Regions from separate parts of the Homo sapiens genome. Here region 2 is linked to region 1. Evidence: promoter capture Hi-C in 16 types of primary human blood cells and fetal thymus (Javierre and others, 2016). All regions are on one chromosome and are shown on one strand. Each heading gives the region's core, a stretch centred on a gene start or on the middle of the fragment in contact. The rest is flanking DNA. Distances are from core to core; before and after follow the strand shown.

Evidence for each region. Contacts are between HindIII fragments. The CHiCAGO score rates a contact against its expected background, and 5 or more counts as called.
Region 2: a contact is called between a fragment that was not itself captured here and the fragment with the promoter of FBXW12 in region 1, in 1 of 17 cell types (megakaryocytes). The highest score is 5.8, in megakaryocytes.

Annotation. Positions count from the first base shown.
Region 1 is chr3:48,370,700-48,373,468 of GRCh38, reverse strand. FBXW12 (F-box and WD repeat domain containing 12) reads right to left here and starts at 1,250. Exons shown (of 11, transcript NM_207102.2): 1 at 1,149-1,250; 2 at 612-785; 3 at 124-161. The coding sequence starts at 701. The HindIII fragment of the contact is 9,186 bases long and covers 1-2,062 here.
Region 2 is chr3:48,273,277-48,276,045 of GRCh38, reverse strand. No RefSeq gene overlaps it. Among named protein-coding and RNA genes, the nearest start is that of NME6, 27 kb to the left of the region's middle. The HindIII fragment of the contact is 1,757 bases long and covers 449-2,205 here.

The sequences.
Region 1 (2,769 bases), core at 1-2,500:
TACTCACACTAACTTTCCTGTGTATATCTCACAACACAGCCACACAGGCCTTGGGACACAGCATGGGTGCGCAGTCAGATGATCTCCTCTCCCCTTCCCTCCTTGCCCTTTCCCTTCCCTTACCTCCACAGGTAATCACTGTCTGCAATCCTATTCCAATGCTATGGGAGAGAAAGGAAGAGACAAGCAGGCAATCAGTTACATCAGAGAGCAAGGGTAATCCTCTGCTATTATTTGTTCTGGGAGCTGGGCCCGCACAGGTTAATCAGATGGGATTCCAGCTCTCAAAGCACTCTCAGTGTGGGGAGATAAGGAAATGGTAACAACAGAGACCTATCACTGCTAATACAGGCACTGGGTATTCCCATGAATTCACAGGAAGAAGTGTTGATTTCCTAGGGCTTGAAATGGGAGCCTCAAGGACTGTTTAGTCAGCACAACTCCTGGATATCAGCTTGTCCTTTTCGTTTAACAGAATATGAGGCCCTCAGTATGAAGAATGCTAACCCCCAAAGCCTCAGTGTAACCCTCTGCTATTCTGCAAAGTGGTGCTCAAACTGGTCGAGAGAAGCAGCGGGCTTGGGGGGCAGTGGGAGGTGGAAGGCCTTTACCTTGTTCACCTGGGAAACCTGCAGCAAGCCGAACAGGTCCAGGAAAGAGAAGATTCGCTTCAAAGCTAAGTCAGGCAATCGGATCTCCATTTCATGCGGCCTGAACCCACATCCACTTTCCTTTCTCCTCTCCGGGCTGCTCTGAATTTATAGGCTTTGCCAAAGTCTGCAGCACTTGTAAAGATTTTCACCCATGCCCATCTGTGTGCGGTAGAAACAAGCTGCAGGTGTGCAGACTCCCGGGCTGACCTCCACCCCGGCCTCTCCCCTGGGGCCTGATCCACACAGCTGGCAGGCATCCCTACCTAAACCCACTTGTTAGTGCTGTTCATTGTTTAGAGGAGCTCAGCAACACCTGTGCGCTGTGAGCTGGAGGTGCAGAACCTGGGGCAGCCCCAGTTGCAGATGAAGTTGTCAGAACCCTTTAGGAAATGTCACCGAGTGCACTCACTTTGATCAGATCTGAGTGTCTCTATGACTCTATTTAAGTTCCAAACTCCTGGAATTGGAGTCTGCTTGCCCTGTGTCTGTGCCTACCTTGGGATCTTGAATCTGGTGAGTGGGGCTCATCTCTCAGCGCCAGCATGGCCTCTGGGTTTCTACCTTCTCGCATTTAACTTTGCAGTGGAGGAGAAAGAACGTGCCAAGCTGGCTTCTCCACAGAGGTCCGCCCAAAGGGAGCAGGCCTTGTCTGGGATGGCTCTCCCAGCTGGTGGCTTTCCCTGGGATGTGACGCTTTCCCACAGTTACAGATCTCCCAAGAACCTGACAACTCATTCTGGGATTTTCTAAAGACCGTGTCATAGCCTGGGTGTTTGTGTCCTCTCAAAATTCCTACGTTGAAATTCTAACCCTTGGTGTGATTGGAGGTGGGGGGCCTTTGGGAGGTAAGTGGGTCACAGGCAGAGTCCTTATGATGGGACCAGTGACCTTATAAAAGAGACCCCAGAACGCTCTCTAGCCCTGTTCATATCATGCGAGGACATGAGAAGGTGTCAGCTGCAACCTGGAAGAAGGCCCACACCAGAACCTGACCGTGCTGACAGGTGACTCTTGGACTTCTCTCCTCCAAAATTGTGAGAAATAAATTTGTTTGTAAGCCACCCAGTCTATGGTACTTTGCTGCAGCATAAGACAGGGGTCCCTCTGTGAGGCTCAGTGGCCAACCCTTCTTAAAACTGCTGCCTCCAGGCAGACACACGGGAGTGGTTGTCGGGAGTCCCATTTATGATACAGTAGTAAGAGAGAGGAAAAATACAAATTGACATGGTGAGGAAATAAAAAGGAAAAGCAAAGACCAAGAAGCACCTAGAGGGGCGTGGGGAAAGGCGAGTCAAGGGGTGTGTGGAGAGGAGTGAGAAAAATACAAGGGTAAAAGATTTGTATTCCATAAATAGGAAATAATGCAGAGAGAGCCAGAGCCGTGGAAGGACACAGGAAGACAGAAAGCTTGGAACGGACTCTATTGTAGAGGAACAGAATTAATGCAAAGATATAGAAGGCTGAGAAATAAAACACTTTAAAATATGACAAGGGAAGAGAAGAAACAGTAAAATAAAGGATATTTTAAAAGTATTAAAGCACAAATATTATAAAATACACAGATAGGAAATATAACTGTAAGTGGACTGAGACAGAGTAGGAATAAAATGGAAAAGAGGACAGATGAGAAAGAGGCAAACATAAGGAAACTGAAGCAAATTGCCGAATGAGTGAATGAATGAATTTGAAATAGAGGAACAGAGGCCAGGCACAGTGGCTCATGCCCGTAATCCCAGCACTTGGGGAGGCCGAGGCGGGTGGATCACCAGGTCAGGAGTTTGAGACCAGCTTGGCCAACATAGTGAAACCCTGTCTCTACTAAAAATACAACAAATTAGCTGGGCGTGGTGGCGGGTGCCTGTAATCCCAGCTACTTGGGAGGCTGAGGCAGGAGAATTGCTTGAAGCTGGGAGGTGGAGGTTGCAGTGAGCTGAGATTGCGCTACTGCACTCCAGCCTGGGCGACAGTGCGAGACTCCATCTCAACAACAACAACAAAAAAAATAGAGGAACAGGAAGGTGTGTTGGGGGGTGGTGGTGGCGGGGTGCTACCAGAAAAGCGGCAGAGAAAGACACATTGCAACAATAGATGAAGACAAATCTAAATGTCACAAGAG
Region 2 (2,769 bases), core at 78-2,577, 98 kb after region 1:
GGGTATAAATTCCTATACACATATAAACTTTGTGCTATACATGGCTTGGGGTCTTTAATGAGTCCTCTAATGTAGGTGGAGAAAGGACTTCCTTCATAAGAGGTCTGAATAACATTTCTCTGAGTTCCCTTTAGCACCTACAGGAGAAATGCTCCTGTAGCGTTATCTGATTTGCTAGGTTATTTTCTGGCTTATCTGATTTGCTAGGTTATTTTCTTGACTCTTGAAAGACAGGCTTTTTGGTGCCTGGGGACATGGACAATAGCTATTTTTTTCTTTTCTGGTAACTGAAGGTTATTTAATACTTGGGTGACTAACTCCTCATAAACAAGGCTTTAACTTTTACTATTAATTCAGTATGAAATTTTCTAAATGTATGAGCCACTGTAAAGGCGTATTTACAATTAGTATATATGGTTCTTTCGGGTCCTGCAGGTACTTTAAAGCTTGACTAAGTGCAGACAGCTTATAAATTTGAATAGACTAATTATTAAACACTTTGATTTTCTCTAGGAACTTTCATTAACCACTGAACACTTGTTGCATTCTTTTTCCCTTAATCACTTTTGAAGGGGGTTTCTCTTAAGTTTGGCCAGACGTTTGTACGGTAATCAGTTAAATCTAAACATGTGTGCTTTCTTTTTGATTTGGATCTCTCGTTAAGAAACTTGCTAGGTTACGCGAATTATCAGTAGTTAATGTTAAACCATCCTTTTTAACAGAATAGCCTCATACTTATACACATGTAATTATTTTCTGGTAGCACATTTTAATATAAGTGACTTTAAGAGGTCGGGCGTGGTGGCTCATGCGTGTAATCCCAGCACTTTGGGAGGCCGAGGCGGGCGGATCACGAGATCAGGAGATCGAGACCATCCTGACTAACATGGTGAAACCCCGTCTCTACTAAAAAATACAAAAAAATTAGCCAGGCGTGGTGGTGGGTGCCTGTAGTCCCAGCTACTGGGGAGGCTGAGGCAGGAGAATGGCGTGAACCTGGGAGGCAGAGCTTGCAGTGAGCCGAGATGGTGCCACTGCACTCCAGCCTGGGCGACAGAGTGAGACTCCGTCTCAAACAACAACAACAACAAAAAAGCGACTTTAAAGAATCAAAGTTCTTTTCTGGTGGATATTTTTACTTTTAACACTGGCCTGACCACAATAAATGCTAGCGGATATATCAGCTGAAAGATTATTTACCACTTGCTCAGGAGACTTAGCCGCAGGGATGCCTAGGTGCTTGGAGCTGCGGCTGAGGCCCCATATTACTTGGCCTTGGCAAAAGTAAGGCAGATATCCCATAATGTAGTCTGCTTGGGGCATAGGCTGGGGCCTGGCCCATGGGTCTTGCAGAGCCGCCGTCAATATGGTGCTGGGATGTTGGACCAGCGGGGGGGCAGGAGCATGGGCTTTGCCTGCCGCTGGGGTGTACTATGGGAGGGACGATGCAGACATGTTGCGGTGGATCCTTGATGTTACTAGCCCAGCAAAAGCGACCTGGTGAATTAGGAGCTTGGAGTTTTTCCGGGGAGGGGGACTTAGGCTGGGCCTGAGGGGAAGGGTTGGGTGTATTAGGAGGGGGACTAGGGGTATTAGGTGGAGGATGGTCTAGGGGATCCCATGTGCTGTTCTCTTTGCCAGGATCCCCCCTTCTCTCACTGGTTCTACAGTAGGGGCAGGTGCATAAGGGAAAAGGGAGGACAGGTCTTTGCTTCCAACAAAGAGCATAGTTCAGTTCTTCTTGAGAAACTGGGCTTTTATTACTTACATGTTGAATTAAAAGTTGATATAGTATATCCTTAGTCGACCCAAACTTTGGCCAGAAGATTGAGGGACTGAGGATAGGTCTTTGAGACCAAATAGAACAGCAATATTTTATCATTTGTTCCTTTGTCTTATGTTTAGTTCTCTTGTTATCTTTCCAACCTTTTAGCCTGAGACCTAAGGGGCTATCAGGTGGTATATCTTTGAGACCTTGGGGACTATCAGTGGTATATCTTTGTTGCTAACTTTATCTTTTTTGCTTGTATTATTTACCATACTGGGTCCTGGCTAGGCTCAATCCCTCGTATTAGGAATCTCTTGCCTAGTGGGGGCTTTCTGTGGCTCAACCCCTCATATTAGGGATCTCCTGCCTATTTGGGGGGTTCCTTCTGGCTCAACCCCTCGTATTAGGGGTCTCTTGCCTGTCCTTCACTGGAAGCTTTGCTAAGGCACAATTCGCCTATCCTTTAGCTCCACCTGCTGGAGATTCCTTGCACCCTTCTTTCACTGCAACCTTCACGCTCTGGCCGCTTCCCTTGAGGGAATGTTCCAGGTCACTTTTAGCATTCATGGGGGGTCAGTATAAACCCCTGACGGGACCCCCAAAGGGCCGCCCTAAGCCATATGAGATGACCACGGAACTGCAGATTGGTCTCACTCCGCACAGCAGTAGTGCTTGTTACCATTCATGCACTTTCAACCTCCAGAATGCCCCGACCCCCGCAAAACCACTAAAGAAGTAATTTGTTGCCCCTGCGACGTTTTCTACCTTGGTCTGTGCAGTTTACCTGGTCGCCGCAGTATTGCAAGTCTCTCTTCCCCGCGTTGCTGAGAGTCCAGGTTTATTCGTCACAACAGGTGGGTCTCGATCTCCCATCCCTGAGGGCCACCGCAACAGGGCAGTGGGAAGTGTCTCCCCTGGGTAGGGTGACTGAAGACCCCTTCCCGAAGGAGAATGGGAATCCCAGACGAGCCCCCAGAATTGTTGGATATAAAATGCTCTAG